Regions from separate parts of the Homo sapiens genome. Here regions 2, 3, 4 and 5 are each linked to region 1. Evidence: promoter capture Hi-C in 16 types of primary human blood cells and fetal thymus (Javierre and others, 2016). All regions are on one chromosome and are shown on one strand. Each heading gives the region's core, a stretch centred on a gene start or on the middle of the fragment in contact. The rest is flanking DNA. Distances are from core to core; before and after follow the strand shown. Region 1 holds the start of IL21R (interleukin 21 receptor). Region 2 overlaps LOC105371155 (a long non-coding RNA gene). Region 3 overlaps LINC02129 (long intergenic non-protein coding RNA 2129). Region 4 has its middle 10 kb from the start of LINC02129. Region 5 overlaps KDM8 (lysine demethylase 8).

Evidence for each region. The method cuts DNA at HindIII sites, captures the fragments that hold promoters and counts their contacts. A CHiCAGO score of 5 or more calls a contact.
Region 2: a contact is called between a fragment that was not itself captured here and the fragment with the promoter of IL21R in region 1, in 15 of 17 cell types (non-activated CD4 T cells, activated CD4 T cells, neutrophils and 12 more). The highest score is 17.1, in non-activated CD4 T cells.
Region 3: a contact is called between a fragment that was not itself captured here and the fragment with the promoter of IL21R in region 1, in 15 of 17 cell types (non-activated CD4 T cells, total CD8 T cells, activated CD4 T cells and 12 more). The highest score is 24.8, in non-activated CD4 T cells.
Region 4: a contact is called between a fragment that was not itself captured here and the fragment with the promoter of IL21R in region 1, in 13 of 17 cell types (non-activated CD4 T cells, total CD8 T cells, activated CD4 T cells and 10 more). The highest score is 17.8, in non-activated CD4 T cells.
Region 5: a contact is called between a fragment that was not itself captured here and the fragment with the promoter of IL21R in region 1, in 13 of 17 cell types (non-activated CD4 T cells, activated CD4 T cells, total CD8 T cells and 10 more). The highest score is 19.6, in non-activated CD4 T cells.

The regions. Positions count from the first base shown.
Region 1 is chr16:27,400,624-27,403,423 of GRCh38, forward strand. It overlaps IL21R (interleukin 21 receptor), which reads left to right and starts at 1,551. Exons shown (of 9, transcript NM_181078.3): 1 at 1,551-1,995. RefSeq lists enhancers at 1,628-2,170, 2,063-2,182. The HindIII fragment of the contact is 2,346 bases long and covers 755-2,800 here.
Region 2 is chr16:27,148,605-27,151,404 of GRCh38, forward strand. LOC105371155 (a long non-coding RNA gene) reads right to left here. Exons shown (of 3, transcript XR_950956.2): 3 at 2,706-2,800. Among named protein-coding and RNA genes, the nearest start is that of LINC02129, 27 kb to the right of the region's middle. The HindIII fragment of the contact is 7,033 bases long and covers 1-2,800 here.
Region 3 is chr16:27,164,848-27,167,647 of GRCh38, forward strand. The region is part of intron 2 of LINC02129 (long intergenic non-protein coding RNA 2129); the gene reads right to left. Among named protein-coding and RNA genes, the nearest start is that of LINC02129, 10 kb to the right of the region's middle. The HindIII fragment of the contact is 2,015 bases long and covers 460-2,474 here.
Region 4 is chr16:27,185,258-27,188,057 of GRCh38, forward strand. No RefSeq gene overlaps it. Among named protein-coding and RNA genes, the nearest start is that of LINC02129, 10 kb to the left of the region's middle. The HindIII fragment of the contact is 788 bases long and covers 1,065-1,852 here.
Region 5 is chr16:27,220,598-27,223,397 of GRCh38, forward strand. KDM8 (lysine demethylase 8) reads left to right here. Exons shown (of 8, transcript NM_024773.3): 8 at 1-1,171. The coding sequence ends at 133. Among named protein-coding and RNA genes, the nearest start is that of KDM8, 18 kb to the left of the region's middle. RefSeq lists an enhancer at 1,798-2,483. The HindIII fragment of the contact is 8,324 bases long and covers 1-2,800 here.

The sequences.
Region 1 (2,800 bases), core at 301-2,800:
GCATCTTTAAAGTCCTTAAAACCCTGGCACACAATGAGCTTTCAGCAAATATTAGCTCTTTTTACTGTCTCTTCTCCTGATCTTTCAACCACTACAAATTTCAGTGCATGTTATCAGAGAATTCACCCCGAAGATCAAGAGAAAGAAAAACAAAAGCTGGTGTCTTCCCAAGGTTCGTTCTCCAGAGAACACGACACACTTCGGTAGCTGGGAAGAGCTCTACAGGGCCAGGATCCCTCAAATCAACCACAGGGGAATTTGTACCAAGTTCCTCAAAAACAGCTAGAAAAAAAAAGAAAGAAAGAATAGCAAGACGCTTTCTCTTTTTTCTCTGGAGTGGTCACGAAAGTCAACAGCAAGTTGATTCCCAAAAATGAGTCAGCAGGGAGAGCTACAAATTGCATCTTGTTATCAAAACAGCATAAAATAGCCTCCCCCAACTGTGGGACATTTCATCCTGGTATGGCCCCGTTTTCACAGCCTGGTATAAGCTTAGGAATCAAACACACCCAGGTTCAAATCCCAGCTCTAATTCTTCTTGGCTTGTGTGACGTTTCACTCCTCTGGGCCTCAGTCTCTCCATCTGTAAAATGGGACTAATCTTGTCTGCCTCACACTTTGTGGGATAAAGTGAGATCATGTAGGCACCAAAGTAATTCGAGGTGGTGGTGATGGCAGTGGTAGTGGTGGTGGTGGTAGCGGTGGTGGTGGTAGCAATTCTCTTGCTCTCCTTTGGAGACTGCACTAGGCATTAAGCTTGTTACATTTTGTCTCCTGGTTTCTTGAATGTCTTCCAGAAACATCTGACCCTCTCATGGGCCTCTGGCATGTTAGCAAGATGAAAACTCTCTTGAGAATTTCTTTTCTCTATTTTCTTCTTGAATTCTCATGTGTTAATGTCTGCCCTCTTCCTCATAGCTAGGTGCCCCCATTTGACAGATGGGCAAAGTGAGGCATTCAGAGAGGTGATGTGACGTGCCCAAGGGGTCCTGCTCCCTGGAGCTCTGCAGCAGGAGACTGGATCCAAAGGAAATGGAGGCAGAGAGGCATGGGGGTCAAGCCAGAGCAGAGGGTCCCAAGCTCAGACCCTATTAGGCAGGTAAGGCTCAGGAATAAGAAACAGGCTGGTTTGCAAAGTCTGAAAAAGGGGCTTCCGTGGGACCTTGGGCAAGGTTCTGGTCCTTCTCTCTGTGCTGAGGGGCTGGAGTCGGCCACTGAGGACTCTGGGTCCACGGGTGAAACTGTGCCACATCTTCACACCTCTGGCCTCAGTTTCCATATCTGTGCAATGTGGTGGCTCCAGGAGGCACTGCCTGCCTCATGGGTTATGACTGAGAGGCCTGTGGGGATGATGTCACAGGTCCCTAAGAGGGAAGTGTCACCCCGATGGCCCCAAATGTCTTACTTGCAGGTGACCTTTGGTGACAGTGGGTGCCTGCTGTGGGGCCAGGCCCCCTCCCACCTCTTTCTCACTCCCTCCCAGGAGGAGCCCAGCTGCGGGTGGGCGGGGCTGGCGGGGAGCGGCTCACCACATCCTCCTCTTCCTCCCCACTCTGCACATGCGGCTGGGTGGCAGCCAGCGGCCTCAGACAGACCCACTGGCGTCTCTCTGCTGAGTGACCGTAAGCTCGGCGTCTGGCCCTCTGCCTGCCTCTCCCTGAGTGTGGCTGACAGCCACGCAGCTGTGTCTGTCTGTCTGCGGCCCGTGCATCCCTGCTGCGGCCGCCTGGTACCTTCCTTGCCGTCTCTTTCCTCTGTCTGCTGCTCTGTGGGACACCTGCCTGGAGGCCCAGCTGCCCGTCATCAGAGTGACAGGTCTTATGACAGCCTGATTGGTGACTCGGGCTGGGTGTGGATTCTCACCCCAGGCCTCTGCCTGCTTTCTCAGACCCTCATCTGTCACCCCCACGCTGAACCCAGCTGCCACCCCCAGAAGCCCATCAGACTGCCCCCAGCACACGGAATGGATTTCTGAGAAAGAAGCCGAAACAGAAGGTAATTCCAGCCCTGGTTTTCTGCTGGGACCAGGGTGCCTTCTCTGCCCAGGAGGGACTGTTCCCTGCCTGCTGCATCTAGTGTCACAGTGGGAGGGCTCGGAGGACTGTGCCCAAGTCACAATTGGGGACACTGAGGCAAAGAAGATTCATGCAGTGAGGCTGGGCAGAAATGAGGTTGGGGTCTCTTGTTCAGCACAGCTTAGGGGCCCAGCAGCAGGGATGTGGCTGAGACGACCCTCTATCTTGAAAACCAGCCTCCAAAATGTAGCGGGCTGGGGAAGGAAAGCCAGTTTCAAGCCAAACATAACATGTCAATCACCCGATTCTGGGCGGCTGAGTCGGGAGGTGACGGGCATGGGTGTAGAGCCTGATGGGACCCATTCTGTGTCAGTTTCTATGTCTTACCACCTTGATTCCACCCAGTCATTCAAAACAATGGCTGGTGTGCCCATTTCGCAGATGAGGCAATGAGGCTGCGAGAGGTAGAGTGATTTTCCCTCGGTGACTCAACTGGGACGTAGCAGGTCGGGCAGTCAAGCCAGGTGACCCCATGAGCTGTCGCTGCATCTTTCTCATGAAGCACGGGGAACGGGTCGGATGGTAAGAGGCCAACCCAGTTCCCTGTGCATGTGGAGGAGAGGAGGGTGGGGAGGTCAGTGGAGGCTGAGCCTTGAAGGATGGGAAAGGAAGAACATTCCTGGTGGAGGAGCCCTGGGGAGCGGGAACTTAGGACTTGCCGCAGGAATGACGTCTCTGCTCAGTGAAGGCAGAAGACCAGGTGCGGGACATTCAAAGCCAGGAGG
Region 2 (2,800 bases), core at 155-2,654, 250 kb before region 1:
TATGGGAAAATGGAGGCCATAAACCACATGGTAAGTCAGTTTGGCCACGTAGCTGACACTGCAGCAAAGATATATGTGCAGGTAGGGCAAAAGGCAGTCTTCCTTAAACCCCCAGAGTGTTCACTCTTGGGAGGAGGAAAGCCAGCCTCAGCCCAGGAGCTCTCTCCCAAGTAATCCACCTTGATTAGGTGATAATAATATTCATAACAAAAAACAATATTTGCCACTTATAGGGCAACTTCCAGGTGTGAGGCCCAGTGTTAAGTGCCTTAAAGGCACTTGTCACTTCTCCTCCTTAAACCATCCCACTGGGAGGCTAAGGCAGGCAGATCACTTGAGCCCAGGAGTTTCAGACCACCCTGGGCAACATGGCAAAGCTCCATTTCTACAAAAAAATACAAAAATTAGCCAGGTGTCATGGTGCATGCCGGTAGTCCCAGCTACTTGAGAGGCAAAGGCAGGAGGATCCCTGGAGCTGGGGAAGCAGAGGTTGCAGTGAGCCACAGTCGTGCCATTGCACTCCAGCCTGGGCAACAGAATGAGACCCTGTATCAAAAAAAAAAAAAAAAAAAAAAAAAAGACCGGGCACAGTGGCTCACACCTGTAATCCCAGCACTTTGGGAGGCTGAGGTCGGTGGATCACGACGTCAAGAGATTGAGACCATCCTAGCTAACATGGTGAAACCCAGTCTGTACCAAAAATACAAAAAATTAGCCGGGCATGGTGGCAGGCACCTGTAGTCCCAGCTACTTGGGAGGCTGAGACAGGAGAATGGCGTGAACCCGGGAGGCGGAGCTTGCAGTAAGCCAAGATCGCACCACTGCACTCCAGCCTGGGTGACAGAGCTCTCAAAAAAAAAAAAAATTCCCAAGGTGGTTAGTGATAGGTGATATGATGTCTGTCCATTTGAAAGACAGAAAACCAAGACTCAGAGACATAAAATAATTTGCCCAATATCACACAGCCAGCAGTGATGATATTGGTTTCACTGAATAAATGTTTACTATGTGCCAAGTCCTCAACTAAGGGATGCTTTATCTCTTTTAATCCTCACAATAGTCCTATGAATGGGGTGGTATCATTCTCATGCTACAGATAAGAAACTTAAGCCCGGAGACAGTGGCTCATGCCTGTAATCCCAGCACTTTTAAAGGCTGAGACGGGAGGATAACTTGAGGCCAGGAGTTCCAGACCAGTGTGGGCAACATAGTGAGACACCTATCTCCACCAAAAATAAAAAATTAGCTGGGTGTGGTATCACATGCCTATAGTCTCAGTTACTCAAGAGGCTGAGGTGAGAGGATCGCTTGAGCACAGGAGTTCAAGGCTGCAGTAAGCTGTGATCACACCACTGCACTCCAGCTTCAGTGATGGAGTGAGACCCTGTCCCAATAAAAAGAAAAAAGAAACCTGAGACTCAGTGAGGATGTATCCATTGGCCTAAGCTCATTAAAGTGGGATTGGAATCCAGACAGCCTGACTCTACCATTGTCTTAGTTCAGGCTGCTATAACAAATACCATGGACTGGTGACTCAAACAACATTTAGTCCTCACACTTCTGAAACTGAGAAGTTTCAGATCAAGGTCAGTGTCAGCTGTGTGGCCAAATCCAAAACCATGTGCCTACAGATTTGGTGTCCGGTGAGGCTTCTCTTCCTGGTTTGCAGATAGCCACCTTCTTACTGAATTCTGACATGGCAGAGAGATACATCACCTTTCTTATGACTTTTTTTGGAGGCGGAGTCTTGCTCTGTCACCCAGGCTGGAGTGCAGTGGTACAGTCTCAGCTCACTGAACCTCCACCTCCTGGGTTCAAGCAATTCTCCTGCCTCAGCCTCCCAAGCAGCTGGGACTACAGGTGCGCGCCACCATGCCTGGCTAATTTTTGTGTTTTTAGTAGAGACGGGGTTTCACCATGCTGGCCAGGCTGGTCTCAAACTCCTGACCTCAGGATCTGCCTGCCTCGGCCTCCCAAAGTGCTGGGATTACAGGCATGAGCCACGGTGCCCAGCCTGGGCCACCACGCCCAGCCTTATGACTCTTCTTATAAGGTCACTAACCTCATTAATGAGGGCTCCATCTTCATGACCTAATTACCTCCCAAAGGCCCCACCTCCTAATCCCATCACTTTGCGGGTTAGGGCTTCAACATATGAATGGGGTAAGGAGGAACTAACACTCAATCTATAGCAACCATTCATGATCATGACAGTGTCAACCTGAAATAATCAAAAGGATCAAAAACCAGTTTAAAAGCGTTTATTCAAGCACAAAGCTGAGAATGGTCATTTGAGTAACATAGACTCCAAAGAACTGGGTTCAGTGATTCAGGATGAAAAGTTAAGATCTTGCTTATACAGGCAGAAAACAAAGAAATTTAGTAGGATTATAACATTTTCTATACAAGGCTGGTTCATGAGGTACAACAATTGTATTATTTATAGTTTGTTTTCTTTTCCATCCAGCTTGTTTTCTTTTCCTTTCCAATTTAAGAGGCTGTATTTGACAGTCCACTTTAGACAATGATAGCCAAGAGGTCTTTGTGTGATTCCAATCCCACTTTTGTGAGCTTAGGCCAATGGACGCATCCTCACTAAGTCACAAGTTTCTTTTTTCTTCTTACTGAGACAGGGTCCTACTCTGTCACCCAGGCTGGAGTGCAGTGGTGCAATCATAGCTCACTGCAGCCTCAAACTCCCATGCTCAAGCAATCCTCCCACCTCAGCCTTTTGTGTGGCTAGGACTACAGAAAGGGAAGTTTATCTAAAGTGAAGATCAACAGTTAAGAGGGAAAGGGT
Region 3 (2,800 bases), core at 217-2,716, 240 kb before region 1:
GATGGACAGAGAGAAACAGAGATGAGATGTAGAAAGCCAGACACAGTGGCATGCACCTGTAGTCACAGCTACTCAGGAGGCTGAAGCAAAAAGATTCCTTGAGCCCAAGAATTCAAGACCAGACTGGGCAACATAGCAAAAGCTGTCCCTCAAAAAAGAAAAAGAAATCTTGTGCTTCTTTTTTAAATTTATTTTCAACCTAAGAAAGATGAATGAAGAAACAGCAACAACCACAACCCCAAAAAAAGAGAGAGAAATGGCATGCTGATACCTTTCCACTTCCCAGCTCCAGGCCTTTCTTAAGACTTAGGGATATTCCTGCCTTAACTTTCGTGAGACACCTCCATATCCTAGTCAGAGTCGTTGGTTGCCAGCAACAGACTCCACTATGGCGGCTTTAGGTCACAAAGGCATTCATCAAAGGACATTCATCAAGTCTCCAGAAGAACCAGAGAATCAAGCTTGGACCCCACAAAGCCAGAAGTCCCCAAATTACACTGCAAGAATACTGCAACCAGGCCCCTACAGCTATCCTGCCCACTGCTAGTGCCAGGCCCCTCCTCACGCTGTTCCTGAGAACTGGGTCCTGTACTCCTGCTGCAAGGAAAGCTACAAAGCAGCACTCCTGACTTCTGACATGGAGAGGCAGAGCTCCTAAATAAAGAGACTTCTCATAGCTATTCAAAAGAAACCACACTGGCCAGAAGCAGCAATGCATGCCTATAGTCCCAGCTACTCGGGCAGCTGAGGCAGGAGGATCGCTAGAGCCCAGGAGTTCAAGTCTAGCCTGGGCAACATAGCAAGATCCCATTTCAAAAAAAAAAAGGAAGAAAGAAAAAAAGAAACAACATAACCACATTGCATTACAAATGTCTGCAACATCATTGTGGTAACTTCTGGCTGCAACAGAGTCTTATGATAAAACTCTGTGCCCCAGCTCTGATCACTGGAACAAGCTGGATAGGTCCATTTTCTTGCCAGGGTGAGACCAAGGAGGTGCCCAGAATGGAAAATTTAAGGAGGCCCTCACTCTCAGGCTCGTGAAAGTGCAGGGTCAGCTCCTGAGAGTGGGGTCTCCTTAAATGTTGTGCCCTGAATGCCTCACTTGCCTTATCCTCCTCCAGGCCCTGCTTCTTGCTGCTCCTAAAGGCCTTTGCTTTCTGGATATTTCTCAGTCCTCCTGCAAACGCAGATGGTAGGCCCACACCTACTAGTGTTCTGGGGATATCCCAACATGCCCATGTCCACTTAGAATCCACTGGAATTTCTGACACATTTGTTTGATGCACTAATTAGTTAATAATGGGCCAGACACAGTGGCTCACACCTGTAATCCCAGCACTTTGGGAGGCTGAGGCGGGAAGATCACTTAAGCCCAGGAGTTGGAGACAAACCTGGACAACATAGTGAGACCCGCATTGCTACCAAAAAGAATTTTTTAATTACCTGGGCATAGTAACTTGTAACCTTGGGAGCTCTGAAACATGGTCCCCACATGAACAGAAAATCTGAGAAAGCATATCTGTGTGGGTGGACAGAGAGAAACAGAGATAAGAGGTAGTAATGTGGGCAAGATGGCACATGCCTGTAGTCCCAGCTATTCAGGAGGCTGAGGTGGGAGGATCACTTGAGCCCAGGAGGTTGAGGCTACAGTGAGCTAAGATTGCACCACTGCACTCCAGCCTGGGTAACAGAGCAAGACCGTGTCTCTAAAAAAGATAAAAACAAAATAAAATAAAAAATTAACAATGTTAACAGAAAACACTTCTTGCACACTTACCTTGTGCCAAGCACGCAGGTGTTTCATCAACACCACAGCTCTAGGCAGTATTCACTACCATTATCTCTGTTTTCCACCTTCTGAGGCACAGACAGGTGAAGGGGCTTGCCAAGATCACACAGCAAGGAACAGAACCAGGATTTGGACCCAAATCTCCCCACTGCCCCTATGAAGCCCCTTCAAGGAAAGCAGCTGCCTGTCTTTGAAAGCCAAGGAAACAGTGGAAATGACAAGTGTTAACCCACTCGTGGCATGTTAGAATGACTGTGGAGCTATTGAATCCTCGGCCCTTAAATCCGCTAATTACAGTTACAATCAATGGCATTAGTGTAAGGGCTCATTCTATTACCAAGACGGTGACGCCGGAGCCCACCAAGCCCACCCACTCCACCAACCACAGGCTCTTGAAATGAGCTGAAATCTGCCTGCTTCTGACCGGTCATCTGGGGCCAGATTCAAGCCTCCAGGCTCAGCCTCTCTTTCCTCTCTGTGGCCTGGCCGGGAGGACAGGTTGTTTTCTTCAGAATCGCCACCCAGACCCAAAAGACAACGGGTTTCCAGAGGCCCCGCACAGCCTTGGCGATGGGAAGCAGATTTTTGCCATTTTCTTCTTTTAGCCAAGGGACATTTAATTAAGGCTCACAAAACCCGCCTAACATATGATCATAATTATATCAGCATATTGGGGCTGGGAAGCTTTAAAGCCCAGTTACAAGTTGGTCAAAGACAGGCATGCAGAGGCCTGGAGAGGGATGGGAGAGAGGGGAAAATGTACTCTCTGGTGACACCAAACCAAAACCAGTAAGGGAACGGTGAGTGGGATTTGCCTGTGGGATAAGGGAAGGGGAAAGGCAAAAGCTGGGCTCTGGGGCGTGTTTTGATATTGGAGAAACTCACACGTTTTACAGGATGCACTTCTGCTCAAAGCAACTGTTTAGGCAGGGAATGGTGGTGAATAAGGCATGAATGAGAGAGCCCAGTAATCGCTGATGATAGCAATGACGGAAAACACAAATCACA
Region 4 (2,800 bases), core at 209-2,708, 220 kb before region 1:
CCTCACTTCCAGCACTGGGGATTACAACTTGACATGAGATCTGGGCGGGGACACAGACCCAAGCCATCAGGAAGCAATGCCCTCTCAGAACGCCTGGACTCCTTGGTCACTGAACAGGAGATGACAGAGCTGGAGGGCCACTCGCTGACGTTTAAATCTTCCACCCAGAGTCCACGGGCCAAGAATAGTCGTCACGTGGCCCTGCCTAACTCCCAGGTGACTGGGAGATGTGGGGGTGCACATGCATCCTGGGAAGTGGCAAACGTCTCTGCTGCAGAGTGTAACTGCAAAAGCACATAAAGCCATATAATTAAATTCCACCTAGGATGCTGTGCTGTAAGACTGCTCTGAGCCAGAACATTAAAAAAGAAATTAGCAAGAGTTATAAACATGGTAAAGACATTTGTAGCACCAAGCTGAGACCTTCTCCTTGACTCCAGCGAAGGGATTAGGAGAGAATTGAAAAGGAAATTACTTTCACAATATGACTCAATGTTATTTAATGTATGTCCCTGTATCAACTAAAATTACCTGCAGGAAAAACTAAACCATGGAAAGAAAGTCTCTGAGGCAAAACAGAAACCAGACAGGGAGGAAAGATGTGTTACGTAAAGTAAGAATTCTTGGGTGGACAACAACATCACTGGTGTGACAGATGGTATTATCCAAAGATGACAACACCAACCTATCCCATCTCACAAGCTCTTGCAATGTGACAATGACAGGCCTCCTTCAAAAGGGAAGGAGCAGTCTGCATCCTCTCCCCTTGATTCTGAGTGGGCCTGAGATTATGGCAGAAGAGAACCCCATAACTTTCAAGGCAATGTTTTAAAAGGTCATATACCCCAAGAGTATACCCCAAGAGTAATGAACACACCTAAAGCCTAGATCTTGATTTCTGATACCATTCTCCAATAAAAGAAACCAGACTTCTTGAAAAAAATGGCTGATTCCAGGACTGGGGCAGGAAATATACATGATGAGCCTGGAGCATATTGTAGCATCAAAAAGTAAGGAAGTACACACATACATGCACACACACACCACAGGTGCCAGTGTGAAGAAGCTTCCAATGGCCAAAGCTAGAACAATTCAAACAACAAAATTATAAGTCTTGGCTGGGCGTGGTGGCTCATGCCTGTAATCCCAGCACTTTGGAAGGCCAAGGCAGGGAGATCACTTGAGGTCAGGAGTTCAAGACCAGCCTGGCCAACAAGGTGAAACCCCATCTCTACCAAAAATATAAAAATTAGCCAGGCATGATGGTGCATGCCTGTAATCCCAGCTACTAGGGGGGCTGAGGCACAAGAATCACTTGAACCCGGGAGGCAGAGGTTTCAGTGAGCTGAGATCACACCACTGCACACCAGCCTGGGCAACAGCGCGAGACTGTCTCAAAGAAAAAAAAAAAAAAGAAGTAGTCTTGGATTATAACCCAGAGTGTAAAATAAATAACCATGAGTCAATACAGGCATTAATAAATGATTACGTAAATAAATAAATGGGAAAGAGAATGGAGAAATCTTCCATGCTGAATAATTCCAAGTAATTTTTTAGATACCCCACCCTCCACCCCTGAGGAGACTGAAAATAACATCAGTCAGGTGCAGTGGCTCACACCTATAACCTCAGCGCTTTAGGAGGCTGAGGCAGGAGGAACACTTGAGCCAAGGAGTTGGAAGACCAGCCTGGGCAACATAGTAAGACCCTGTCTCTACTAAAAAAAAATTTTATGTCAGCTAAATAATGAGAACACATGGATACATAGAGGGAAACAACACACACTGGAGCCTATTGGAGGGAGGAAAGGGGGAAGAGAGAGAAGATCAGAGAAAATAACTAGTGAGTACCAAGCTTAATACCTGGGTGATGAAATAATCTGCACAACAAATCCCCGTCACACGTTTACCTATATAACAAACCTGCATATGTACACCTAAACTTAAAAGTTAAAAAGAATTTAATTAAAAATAAAATAATTTTAAAAAGGCTAACATCAACAGTGGTAAGTCATGTTGATAGTATGTACCCTTTTTTTTTTTTTTGAGACGGAGTCTCGCTCTGTTGCCCAGGATGGAGTGCAGTGGTATGATCTCGGCTCACTGCAACCTCTGTCTCCTGGCTTCGAGTGATTCCCCTGCCTCAGCCTCCTGAGTAGCTGGGATTACAGGTGTGCATCATCACATCTGGCTGATTTTTGTATTTTTAGTAGAGATGGGGTTTCACCATGTTGGCCGGGCGAGTCTTGAACTCCTGGCCTCAAGTAATCTGCCCACCTCGGCCTCCCAAAGTGCTGGGATTACAGGCGTGAGCCACTGCACCCAGCCAGATAGTATGTACCCTTGATATGATGTGATGAGAAGGGTACTTCACCCCAAAATGCATAACCCCAGCCTAACCATTAGAACATCAGAAAAACCCAGCCAAGGGACTCGCTACAAAATACCTGCCTAGTACTCAAGACCATCAAGGTATGAAAACCAAGGAAAGTCTGAGAAACTCTCACTGCCAAGAGAAGTCTAAGGAGACATGGCCACCAAGGTAATGTGGTGTTCTGGATGGGATCCCAGAAGACAGAAAGGACATGAGATAACAACTCAGGAAATTTGAATAAAGTATGAGCTTTAGTTATTTTAAAAAAGTATCAATATTGGTTCATTAATGGTGGGAGATGCACTATACCATCTAAGATAGTAATCATAGGGAAAACTGGATGCAGGATATATGGGAAATTTCTGTACTAGCTTTCTGATTTTTCTGTCAATCTAAATGTATTCTGAAATTAATTTTTTAATTTAAA
Region 5 (2,800 bases), core at 141-2,640, 180 kb before region 1:
CCCCAAGTTTGCCAAGGCCCCATTCCTGTCCTGCATCCTGTCTCCTGGAGAGATCCTGTTCATCCCGGTGAAATACTGGCATTACGTGCGGGCTCTGGATTTGAGCTTCTCGGTCAGCTTCTGGTGGTCGTAGCCAGGATAGGAGCTGAAAGGGCCTGACATGCAGACAGCATTCATCTGTTCACTAATTTCCTGGGTCCTGGAATCTATAGAGACAAGCAGGACTGAACCTGTGTCCTGAAGAGCCTTCACTGCCCAGTGGCAGCCCTGGGGGGCTGAGCTCCAGCACTGGACAGGCACAGAGCAGGGGCTGCCCAGGAAGGAGCACACTCCAGGCCAGGGGTGCATGGCAGAGGAAGGTGGGGAGAGCCCAGAAGGACATTGCAGACAGACAGCCTGCATGGGGACTCTGGCATCAGAAAGCCGAATGTTTTTGGGAAACGGGTGGGTCACACAGGCAGGGGTGAAACATGGGCTCTGAGGTTGGCTACCTGATTCAAACCCGGCCGCGCTGTGCACCTGCTGGGTGACTTGGCCAGGATCCCCCACTTCGCTGTGCCCATATGGAAAAGAGGGCAAGGCCAGTCCTCACTGCCGAGGGCCGAGAAGGCGGTGCCGAGCCCCTGCTGCTGCATGAACCTTAGCCGCTGTCACTGATCCCAATTACTCTGATCCTTTTGCCCTTCCTTCCCATAACGGCCTGCTGGACGCCACAGCCTGAATACTGGAGAGAGCTGGGCATTGCCCAGGTCACAGGAGAGAGTCCGTAGAGACCTGCGCAGGAGCCGGGACCCCTGCTGAGCAGTGGGAGCTTTCTGTCATCCCCATGGCTCAAGGATAACCTACCTGCCTGCAGAGAAGTGCGAAGGTCTTGCTGGATGACTTTTCACCCGCACTCACCCAGGAGCAGGCTCCCAAGTGAAGAAACCACCGAACCATCACCAGCTCCTAGAAGCCTCCCTCCTACCACCTTCTAGTCACCATCCCCCAGAAGTAATGACTCTCAAACCTGGGGGATTTGAGGCCAGGGGGAGAGCCAGGCTCTATGCTTTCTGTAATTGTGTCTCGTTTGTGTGCACGCAGGTTTGTTTTATGTTTTGGCCATTAAGATTTTCCCCAGCCCTCTGTTTTTTGTTTTTTAAACTAAATAGAGATGGGATCTTGCTATGTTGCCCAGGCTGGTCTTGAACTTCTGGGCTTAAGCAATCCTCCCACCTTGGCCTCCCAAAGTGCTGGGGTTACAGGTGTGAGCCACATGCCAGCCTTGGCTTCTTTCTTCCCCGCTTCTAAGATAGGCCTGGGGAAAAGAGCCCTGAGGGTTGAGCTGCCATCCTGCCAGCATCCTGCCACTGGCTCAGCTGCTTGTCTTTTAGCCAAAAATCAAGCAGCCCCAGGAAAGATTCTGGTTGGCCAGGAGGTAGCTACCCTGGGGTAACTAGAAGGGGGATGGGAAAGTGGCTGTGGGCAGCTGAACTCCAGCTCCTGATGCCCTCTACCCAGGCCAAGGAATTTGACTTTATCGTGTAGGTCCTGGGGTTCTCAGCCTTTGAGCAGACACAGCAGAATCTGCATTCTCGAAAGCTGGCTGTTGGCAGGGAGAGGCCGTGATACTCATCCTGGGAGTGGGCTGCCGAGGGGCCATGGGCGTGCTGGGGAGTGACAAACACAAGAGCTATCTGGAAGCTGAGTCCACTTGGCTCCGTGGGCAGCTGTTTGCAAGGACATTGTTTATTCCCTGCCATGGTTAATAGTGAATTACCTAATCTTTCACAGGAAGAATTTACACCAGATGTCAACACCCCTGAAAGTAGCGAGGCATAAAACAGGGACGCCCTCATGACTAGGTTCGCCATTAGTGAGGAGGGGTGGCGGCCCGGCCACAGTGGGCTGTGACTCCTGGCCCGCCTGTGTAACTCAAACCCCTTCCCCAGCTGAAGGACAGGTGGACTGTGGCCCCAGCTCCCAGTGCCTAGCCGCTCCAGCTGGCAAGCCCCACGGCCCATCTGTAGTGTAGCGTGACAGAAAGCTGGGCACGGGAGGCCACGTTCATTAACGTGTGGTATCCTGGCCAGGTGGCTTCAAGCAGATGTCCCTTGTCAGATGAGGAATGGGAAAAGGGGAAATGTCCTGCCCTGTGGGTGAGGACACGCAGCATCTGGAACTCCTCATGAGGGTTTTGAGTGAGTGCTAGTGTGCGTTGTGGGACGTTCATGTCGGTGTTATCATGCAGGGGTTGGAGGCAAGAGAGACAAGCAGCAGGAGGGCTGGTGTCCCCAGTGGCCAAGTGCCCAGAGGCTTCCTGAGTCCCCAGCCAGGACTGACTCGAGCTCAAAGAATGAACAGCCAGAACCACAGGACAACTGGGACAGTCCGGAGCTGCCCCGGCCCCTCCTGCAGGCATTATTTGCTAGTTGGCTTTTTGCCTTCTGGCGTCCATCTTCCCGTCTTCCAGAACGGCAAGCTGACTGCATTCTGGAGAATGACCTCTGCCCCAGGGATGCGGTCCTGGAAGGTCTGTACATCAGCTCCTCCCTGGACCGGCATCTTGAGGGCGTGTCGGGAGGAGCTCAGACAGGCTGGAGCCGACCCCCTGTGGCAGCAGCGCCCGCAGTGACAGAATTGTCTTGACATCCATGACCCTTATTCCAAGGTCTCCCATTCTAGACTGGTCCTGCCTTCCTGTCATTTCTGCAAGCCACCTCATACGTTTCCAAAAAACCCCTCTTTAGGTGAGGCCGGCCGGGGCTGGCAGTGGCTGAACGTACTGGGCTTACCAATGGGCGTGTCTCTGCCCACTGAC